2 separate regions of the Homo sapiens genome follow, and region 2 is linked to region 1. The links are contacts of gene promoters, found by promoter capture Hi-C in blood cells and fetal thymus (Javierre and others, 2016). All regions are on one chromosome and are shown on one strand. The core of a region is centred on a gene start or on the middle of the fragment in contact, and the rest is flanking DNA. Distances in the headings are between cores, read along the strand shown.

Region 1 (5,356 bases), core at 1-2,500:
GCAGATAGGTGAGGCTGCAGTCACAGTGCCAGGGGTTCTGCGTCACATCGAGGGTCTGCAGCTGGGGCAGGTGGTCAAAGGCTCCCGGGGGCACGGACTGAAGGCTGTTGTTGGCCAGCAGAAGGTGGCGGGTGCGGGCCGGCAGGGCAGGCAGGGCCGTGAGTCCGTGGCCCCTGCAGTCCACCCACAGCCCCATGGTTTCCAGGGCGCGGCAGGTACATGGGCTGGGGCAGTCCTTGGTGGCCTCTGCTGTGGCCCAGAGCAGGAACAGGGCTCCCCAGGCAGGCATGGGACAGGCTGGCTGCAGAGAGAGGGGCTGTGAGGGAGGGCCTGGCAGCCTGGACCGATCCTCAGGGACGGCAAGCACTGGGGATGTAGCGGAGCCTGACATGGGACGGGGTGCACTCACCTCCCTTCTCGGGTCTCAGCCTTCTCCTCTGGGAAACCAGCTGGTGACTAGGGAAGGTGGAGTGTGCCCAGCCCAGGCCTGGCTAACTGTCTCTGGACACCGTAGAAGGCCGGGCGGTGAGGGCGGCTGTGGATTGGGTAAGTTTGTTTTTGGGAAGGGGAAGGGACTTCCTGGCCCTTAGCAGAGACCCCATCCCCTGCTTGGGGATGAGAGGAGCAGATGGCTGCTAAATGAGTCCCAGCCCAGGACCACAGTCCCCAGAGACTAGGAAAGAGCCTTGGAGGGCCCTGCAGGCTGCGCCCAGCACCCCCCACCAGCTAAGTGAGCTGTTACCTGATTCCCAGATGCAGAAGACAGCAGGACAGGGACACTGGCTGGAGCAGGGAGGGGAACTCAGTGGGACCCCATCTGGAAAACCACTCATCTGGGCTAACACTGACTTGGGGAAACTGAGGCCCAGAGAGGGAAAGCAATGTGCCCAGGGCCACCGGTGTGGTGTCAGAGGCCAGACTCACACTCGGGTCTCGGCAACCGTGGCCCTCTGTTTGGTTCTTCCCCACAGGCGTTTCCCCTCCACCAGCAGAGCTCCCCCTACCCACAGCAGGTTTCCAGTGAATAAGTGTCAAATCAACTCACTCATCTTGACTCAGCCAAGGAGATGGTGTCTCAGAGGGAATGTCCCACCCAACCCTGTCTTGTTAAAGGGACAGGAACTGACCTCCTCTCTCCCTGTGGGAGGCCATGCTGGGTAATACGGAGGGCCACTTACCTGTGAAGCCTTTGGTCAGGTGCTCCTGTCTGGCCTGAAAGGTCCTGGCTGAGGCCTGGGTGGCAACTCTATGGGATACAGCTGAGGTGGCCGCTGCGGGAGCGGGCGGAAGGAAGTGATGAAAATAGCCTGGCTTATCCCCCCAGTGCAGCCTTGGGGCCTATTTCCAGAGGCAGGAGGCCCTCAGGGGCCCGCGCCTTGGGCACAGAACCACATCTCAACCCCGGTTTATAGAAGGGGGTCCCACTGTGCCGCCAGTGCCTTGATGGGCTTTGGAATCAGGTCTGTGGAGGACTGAGGGTGGCCCCTCACCTGCTCCCAGAAGGTGGGAACTAGGAGACCCCTGAGAAACGTGGCTCTGCTGGTTGTTCCTCCGAATCTCAGTTTTCCTCATCTGTAAAGTGGGAGCAGTGACCGGTCCTGCCTGCCTCACAGAGGTGTGGGCTGGGCAGCTCCCACTGGCTGAGAACACCATGGTGGGGAGAGTGACTTCATTTTTAACTCTCCTCCCTCCTCCTGTATACTCAAGGACGGAGTCTCTTCTTGGTGCCATGGTGTTTTTAGCTCCTGCCTAGTGCTTCTCCATGCCTCTTTCTAACAAACAGCTGTAGGCCTGGGAAGCAGAGCCTCTACCAAGTGTGAATCTCTAGCTAGAATTTTGGCCTATGGTTTTAACATTTGCAGTACATTTTCTTCTAGAGCACATTCTACTTAGGGGAGGGACACCATTTTCCATTTATGTTAGTGACATAAAGCTTCCTTTAAAAGATAAATATATTTTGGGATGGAGAATTGCTTGAACCCAGGAGGCAGAGGTGGCAGTGAGCCGAGACCGTGCCATTGCACTCCAGCCTGGGTGACAGAGCGAGACTCCGTCTTAAAAAATAAATAAAACAGGGTAAAAACACAGAAGTTACAGAAGCCTGGCAGGAAAAGCCAAAGACAGAAGGCTGACGGAGGCTTTAAACGCACTTCGTTGACATTCAGGACCCTCGGGAATATTCCTCGGCCCTACGGGGGTGGGGGTGTGCTTGTTCTTATTTTGGTCTCACATCCTTCTCAGGCCAGCCTTCCTCCTCCTGCATGGCCAAGCAGGGTGAGTCCTTCCTTGGGAGGCCGCCTGTTCTCTCCCCGCCTCCTGGTTCTGGATTTGGGTAGGGCAGGATTTGGGTGTTCACCCTCCTAGGAGGCCCTGAGAGGCTGCCAGGCCCCAGCTCTGCTTCCTCCACCCACTGATGCTGGGCTCAGAGAAGGGTGGGGAAGGTGCTGTTCCCCCACTGATGTCACACCTGCTCGGGGGCCTGGTTGCTGCTGGGGGTCCCCTGGTATGTGCTCAGTGGGGACTCTGACCGGAGCCTGGACCATGGAGAGGAGCCTCAGCCTGTCTGGCCCTTCCCTCCCTCCCCATGGAGCCTTGGCATGTTCCACCTCCTCTGCCCTGCACACATTCACCAGTGAGCCCCACGCAGGTGGGTAAGGGGTTCTGGAGTGAGTGGGGGTGCTGGAGCTGCCAGGCCAGGTGTTGTGACCAGATCTGGTGGGGCCTGTGCCCTCCTTCCTCTTGAGCCTCTGAGATTTCCTTATTTTCAGCATGTACAACTTAAAACAAAAAACTAGATCAACATAGATGGGTTTTGTGAATTTAAAAAACTACATAAATAACAAATAAATGATTTTTGTTGTGGGAAATTAGAATGTTCAGATGAACTGGAAGAAGAAAATAAAAATTTCCCTCCATCCCAACATCAGGCAAGGCTTTTTCCCCATGTGTATTTACCCATATGGGTAAATACATACCCATCTGCCCAAGAGGCACAGGATAATGCAGGAAGTGGATCTGTAAACAGCCTGGGTGAGCCTGCAAGTGGATTCTCCCAGAGCCTCCAGAGAGGAATGCAGCCCTGCCAGCAGCTTGATTTCCACCTACAAGTGATGCAGGGCAGGTGAGCCCCCAAATCAGGGCTTTGCCCCTGAGGGCTCTTGGCTTTGGCCAGGAAAGAAGTCAAAGAGCCAGTGGTGAAGAAAGCCGCTTTATTGAAGCAGCAGTGCATAGCAGAGGTGCTGCTCTCTGGGAGCAGGGCTACCCCACAGGCAGTGTGCCCAGAGCAGTAGTGTGTGGGCTTTTGGCAACTGCACTTACAGCCACTATTCATTACATGCAAATTCAGGGGCAGGTTATTTCAAACTTTCTAGAAAAGGGGTGGTGAGTTTCCAGAACCCTGTAACTTTCAGGTTGTTGCCATGGCGTGCTGCCATGGCATTTGTAAACTACCATGGTGCCAGGGGGAGTGTCTATGTTAGTGAGCAGTGAGGGCAACTAGCGGTTGCTTTCGTTCCCATCTGCTGGTTTCTGGTGTCTGCCAGCTTCTTCACTACACCTTGTTTCAACCAGATCCTGCTGCCATCAGCAGGCTGGGGACCGGGGGTCCTGACAGGTGCTCAGAAAACAGGTCCTGCTGATCTACCTCAGGAGGGCTGGAATAAGAGAACCCACAGGAGCTGTGTGATGAAGAATGAGAAAATAAATGTGTGCTGCATTAAGCCTCTTGTGACAGCAGCAATAGGAACCAAGGCGAAGGCCAAGCCCCACTCTTGTGCTGTGAGTTGTCCCCTCTCCATCCTTCCAGGACATTGCCCCATCAGGTGCCCCTTCCTCTGCATGATCAATTTCTCCTTCACTGGGTCATTCCATCAGGTTAGGAGCAGCCAGACCAGGCGCGGTGGCTCACGCCTGCAATCCCAGCACTTTGGGAGGCTGAGGCAGGCAGATCACTTTAGGTCTGCCTAAAGTGGGTTTCGAGACCAGCCTGACCAACATGGAGAAACACCATCTCTACTAAAAATACAAAATTAGCTGGGCGTGGTGGTGTATGCCTGTAATCCCAGCTACTTGGGAGGCTGAGGCAAGAGAATCACTTGAACCCAGGAAGCGGAGGCTGTGGTGAGCTGAGATCGCGCCATTGCACTCCAGGCTGAGCAACAAGAGCAAAACTCCGTCTCAAAAAAAAAAAAAAAAAAAAGAAGCAACCTATAATCCTGCCCTTTTGAAAAATCCTTCCTTAATTCCACCTCTTTCTCCAATTACCATCTGATTTTTCTGCTTCTCTCTTCCATAAAACTCCTCTGAAGAGTCACTTCTACTTGCTGTCCAACCCATCAGTAATTCCTGTCATTTCAGTCACCAGGATCTATTCAGAACTTAACCACTTCTCCCTGTGCTGCTACTGCTCTGGTCTTCGTTCGCCTTCTTGGCTTCCCATCGCAAATAAAAGAAAACCCGTGCCCCTGTGGTCAGGAAGCTACAGGCCCCCCTGTAGCTTGGCCCCTGCCTATTTCTTGACCCCATCACCCACTGTCTACTTTGCTCATCAATGTCCAGCCACACCAATTTTCTTCCTGTTGCTCAAACACTCCAGCACTTTCCTGCCTCAGGGCCTTTGCACTTGCTGTTCCCTCTGCCTGGAGTGCCCTTCCCCCAGAGCCCCACATGGCTTCCTCCTGATCATCATTCTCATCTCAATTCAGATGACCCCTCCTCAAAGGCCTCCCTTGCCAAGGCACAGCTCCATCCTTCTGTACCATAATATTCCATTTCATATCTTCCTTAGCATTGATCAGGATCTGAAATGATCTTATTTTTACATTTTTATGTGTTTATTAAATGTCTCCTCCCATTGATGTGAAACTCAAGAGGGCAGAGACTCTGTCCCATTAACTCTTCCCTCCCCAGCACCTCTGCCTGGCCCATGGGCATTATCTAATACATACTTGTCAGCCTTGCTGGCTGTCTCTTCTCTAGTGCTGGCCTTATCTGTGTCTTGCCAGGACTGCTGTCTCCTTGATGCTGGCCTCTGCCTCTACTATACAGGTTTAATCTCACTACACTCCTGCTCCATGTCTTTCATGGCTCCCTGCTGTCTTCAGGACACCCTCTGCCACCCTGTCCAGCCTCACCTCTCATCTCTTCCTGATCTGAAGCTTCGTGGTAGGCTAGCCATGTCCCTCACTCCCCACCCACATGCCAACTTCTGTCTGTGCTTTTGCCTCTGCACTGCCCTCTTTCTGGAGCCCTGTGGAATTTTGCCTGGCATGCTGCATCCTTTAAGATTCACCGGGGGCATAACTTCTTACGGGAAGCCCTCCTCGACGCACTCACCCAGCCGTTTGCTTATCTGTTT
Region 2 (4,964 bases), core at 173-2,672, 110 kb before region 1:
TTTCAAAGATCTGACTGCAGCCATGAGCAGCAATGAGTGCTTCAAGTGTGGACGATCTGGCCACTGGGCCCGGGAATGTCCTACTGGTGGAGGCCGTGGTCGTGGAATGAGAAGCCGTGGCAGAGGTGGTTTTACCTCGGATAGAGGTATTTTGTCGAATAGAAAAATTTGAAGTACTTCAGTATTTGTTAGTATCAAGACTGGTCTGACTAGCCGAATTCTTTGTTTTTGCTCAAAACAGGTTTCCAGTTTGTTTCCTCGTCTCTTCCAGACATTTGTTATCGCTGTGGTGAGTCTGGTCATCTTGCCAAGGATTGTGATCTTCAGGAGGATGGTAAGTATTTAACACTTCCTTTTCATACCCCTCTAGAGCTTGGAGAGGTGAGCACATGCAACTGTGTATAGCATTTCCACCTTTGAGGTTTTGTATTGTATAATTTAAAACGTAACACTTTGTAAAGGTTTTATAGTCTTGGCCTGTTTCTTTTCCTTATTGTTGAAGCCTGCTATAACTGCGGTAGAGGTGGCCACATTGCCAAGGACTGCAAGGAGCCCAAGAGAGAGCGAGAGCAATGCTGCTACAACTGTGGCAAACCAGGCCATCTGGCTCGTGACTGCGACCATGCAGATGAGCAGAAATGCTATTCTTGTGGAGAATTCGGACACATTCAAAAAGACTGCACCAAAGTGAAGTGCTATAGGTAAGGTGTCAGAATGTTGTTAGAAGAAAACTCATTGCAGAGATTCTTCCAGAGATGAATTAGCTATAAATGGAAGGGCCTTAGTAAATTCAGTGAAACTTAGCTGTGACCAGATAAGACCAATTTTCAGCATATGTAACTGGCAGTCTATCTGTATATAATTCTGTATTCTGCCCTGATATCCTGTGGCTTATGGTACCTGGGCAGTTTTCACAACTGGACTTTTTTAATATATAAAAGTAAGAGTGTTATAATTTGAAACTTCCAGAGACTTCATAGAAAGCTCTGTAATATACATAAATCTTTTATCATGTAACCAGAAATCTTTGCCTGTTTGTGACATGTAAGTGTATAATTTGATAAATGTTGTTGTGTACATATCTGTGAAACCTTAGGGGTTAATTGCATGAAAACAAAGATCAGGCGTTTTGTTCTGCATGGTGACTGTTGCTTTGGTAGACAGTTTTTTTCTGAGGCCCATTGTGAAAACTTTTAATTTCTTTTTTAGGTGTGGTGAAACTGGTCATGTAGCCATCAACTGCAGCAAGACAAGTGAAGTCAACTGTTACCGCTGTGGCGAGTCAGGGCACCTTGCACGGGAATGCACAATTGAGGCTACAGCCTAATTATTTTCCTTTGTCGCCCCTCCTTTTTCTGATTGATGGTTGTATTATTTTCTCTGAATCCTCTTCACTGGCCAAAGGTTGGCAGATAGAGGCAACTCCCAGGCCAGTGAGCTTTACTTGCCGTGTAAAAGGAGGAAAGGGGTGGAAAAAAACCGACTTTCTGCATTTAACTACAAAAAAAGTTTATGTTTAGTTTGGTAGAGGTGTTATGTATAATGCTTTGTTAAAGAACCCCCTTTCCGTGCCACTGGTGAATAGGGATTGATGAATGGGAAGAGTTGAGTCAGACCAGTAAGCCCGTCCTGGGTTCCTTGAACATGTTCCCATGTAGGAGGTAAAACCAATTCTGGAAGTGTCTATGAACTTCCATAAATAACTTTAATTTTAGTATAATGATGGTCTTGGATTGTCTGACCTCAGTAGCTATTAAATAACATCAAGTAACATCTGTATCAGGCCCTACATAGAACATACAGTTGAGTGGGAGTAAACAAAAAGATAAACATGCGTGTTAATGGCTGTTCGAGAGAAATCGGAATAAAAGCCTAAACAGGAACAACTTCATCACAGTGTTGATGTTGGACACATAGATGGTGATGGCAAAGGTTTAGAACACATTATTTTCAAAGACTAAATCTAAAACCCAGAGTAAACATCAATGCTCAGAGTTAGCATAATTTGGAGCTATTCAGGAATTGCAGAGAAATGCATTTTCACAGAAATCAAGATGTTATTTTTGTATACTATATCACTTAGACAACTGTGTTTCATTTGCTGTAATCAGTTTTTAAAAGTCAGATGGAAAGAGCAACTGAAGTCCTAGAAAATAGAAATGTAATTTTAAACTATTCCAATAAAGCTGGAGGAGGAAGGGGAGTTTGACTAAAGTTCTTTTTGTTTGTTTCAAATTTTCATTAATGTATATAGTGCAAAATACCATATTAAAGAGGGGAATGTGGAGGACTGAAAGCTGACAGTTTGGACTTTTCTTTTTGTACTTAAGTCATGTCTTCAATAATGAAAATTGCTGTTAAAAGGATGTATGGGATTTAGATACTTTTGCAAAGCTATAGAAAATTCACTTTGTAATCTGTTATAATAATGCCCTTGAGTTCTGTGTTCAGTCTGAACAGGTTTTTTGGTGGTGGTGGTTTTGTTTTGTTTTGGAGACGGAGTCTCACTCTTGTCGCCCAGGCTGGAGTGCAGGCTTGGCTCACTGCAACCTCCACCTCCCGGGTTCAAGCAATTCTCCTGCCTCAGCCTCCTGAGTAGCTGGGATTACAGGCACCCGCCACCACCCCCCGCTAATTTTTTGTATTTTTATTTTTATTTTATTTTTTTATTTTTTTTTGAGACAGAGTGTCGCTCTGTTGCCCAGGCTGGAGTGTAGTGGTGCGATCTCGGCTCACTGCAAGCTCCGCCTCCTGGGTTCGTGCCATTCTCCTGCCTCAGCCTCCTGAGTAGCTGGGGCTACAGGTACCCGCCACCGCGCCCAGCTAATTTTTTTTTTTTGTATTTTTAGTAAAGACGGGGTTTCACGGTGTTAGCCAGGATGGTCTCAATCTCCTGACCTCGTGATCCGCCCGCCTTGGCCTCCCAAAGTGCTGGGATCACAGGCGTGAGCCACCGCGCCCGGCCTATTTTTTGTATTTTTAGTAGAGACTGGGTTTCATCATGTTGGTCGGGCTGGTCTCCAACTCCTGACCTCAGGTGATCCACCTGCCCCGCCCCCCAAAGTGCTAGTGTTACAGGTGCGAGCCACCGTGTCTGGCCGATTCTGAACAGTTTTAATACCATTGCTATTTTTGTGTTTTTCCTGGGCCTTTTTTTTTTTTTTTTTTTTTTTTGAGACAGTCTCGCTCTGTTGCCCAGGCTAGAGTGCAATGGTGCAATCTCAGCTCACTGCAACCTCCACCCCCCACCCCCACACCCCGTTCAAGTAATTCTCCTGCCTCAGCCTCCCAAATAGCTGGGATTACAGGTGTCCGCCACCACACCCAGCTAATTTTTGTTATTTTTAGTAGAGATGGGGTTTCACTGTGTTGGTCAGGCTGGTCTCCAACTGTTGCCCTCAGGTGAGCCACTGTGCCCCACCTTTTCCTGGGTTTCATAAGGATCTGAAGTGGTGGATTCCTTGTTTTTGCTAGTGTCTCATTTAGAGTTGAGATGGACCTTAAAACTCATCTGTTTTAACTCACTTTTTAATAGATGAGTTAAACTTAATTTACTTAAGGATGTACAGTTAGAGCCTGGAACTTCAACCATTATTCACTCCCCATGCCCTGTTTCCCCCCACTTCGAAATTAAATGCGGTTAGCATCATATAGTTCATTTTCCCCCTCCATGCTGCTGTGTGATTCTTGACTTTGGGTATGAGTTTTTCATCCTTCATGCAGGGTTCTGTCAGTTCATGGTATAGTGATTCAGTGTTAAAATGGTGGTGTCTCAGCTGTGCTGTGCACATTCCAACCTTGTCAAATTAATAGTCCTGAGCAAGCAAGAAAAAGAGGTAATAACATACCCATTTCTTTATGAATATAAGCTTATAATATTTTTTCATGTGCTATTTTTACTGAGCAAATTGTATGTCTCACATGTTAACACAATAAATATCTTGACAATTTTATTTTCTACCATATGTATGAAACAGCATAAGGAAAGACTTTTTTTCGAAGGCATCACTGTTAGGTTGGGGGAAAGATTTATTTTTGAAGGCATCACTGTTAAATGAGGTTTGGGGGCTGGTGTGCACATGGAGTTATTTCCCCCCAAATTCTGGGCCTCATGTAGGAAAACCTAAAACATAGCAAATGGGATATGTTGTTATGGCTCTTCAGGTCAGCTTAGTTCTCATTAATAATACTTTCTCCTGCGTTAATCACAGCTTTGTGTGTTGGGAAGGGAAAAAGTAAAGTGGGTTGGTTAAAATTTAGAACTCCTTTGCTTCATGCACCCATTCCTTGTGCTGAATTTGTAGTACTTTAGTTGCTTTGTGAGACCTTTTGAAACAACATAATTAAGGACCTATTCACAGGAGACTACAAAGTGTTCCTTTATAAGATAAAATTTATTTGCATTGACCTTGATGACTGGAAAGCAAATGCAACATGAAAATGTGTATTTTACAGAGAAATCCGGCTAACTAAAAGGAGTCACACTGGGCGTGGTGGCTTATTCCTGTGATCCCAGCACTTTGGGAAGCCAAGACGGGTGGATCATGAGGTCAGGAGTTCGAGACCAGCCTGGCTGACATGGGGAAACCCTTGTCTCTACTGAAAATGCAAAAATTAGCCAGGTGTGGTGTCACACGCCTTGATTCTCAGCTACTCAGGAGGCTGAGGCAGGAGAATACCTCGAACCAGGAGGCAGAGGTTGCAGTGAGCCAAGATTGGCGCCATTGCGCTCCATTCTGGGGAACAGACAGACTCCGTCTCAAAAAAAAAAAAAAACAGTACAATGAACCCCCCATGTGTTCTCGATCTAGAGTTAACAATAGTTTGAAAGTAAGTTATAGACGTGACATCACTTTATCATGCATCTTATAAGATGTTCTCATTACCACAGTACCATTATCATACTTAATGTATCTAAACATTCCCTAGTATCTGATATCTAATACTATATTCAAATAGCATAA

The links. Contacts are between HindIII fragments. The CHiCAGO score rates a contact against its expected background, and 5 or more counts as called.
Region 2: a contact is called between a fragment that was not itself captured here and the fragment with the promoter of GP9 in region 1, in 3 of 17 cell types (non-activated CD4 T cells, naive CD8 T cells and naive CD4 T cells). The highest score is 6.0, in non-activated CD4 T cells.

Annotation. Positions count from the first base shown.
Region 1 is chr3:129,056,673-129,062,028 of GRCh38, reverse strand. It overlaps GP9 (glycoprotein IX platelet), which reads right to left and starts at 1,250. Exons shown (of 3, transcript NM_000174.5): 1 at 1,179-1,250; 2 at 410-535; 3 at 1-301. The coding sequence starts at 289. The HindIII fragment of the contact is 4,040 bases long and covers 1-1,935 here.
Region 2 is chr3:129,166,816-129,171,779 of GRCh38, reverse strand. CNBP (CCHC-type zinc finger nucleic acid binding protein) reads left to right here. Exons shown (of 5, transcript NM_003418.5): 2 at 9-146; 3 at 242-334; 4 at 503-701; 5 at 1,210-3,953. The coding sequence starts at 23. The coding sequence ends at 1,327. Among named protein-coding and RNA genes, the nearest start is that of ISY1-RAB43, 8.2 kb to the right of the region's middle. The HindIII fragment of the contact is 4,898 bases long and covers 1-3,871 here.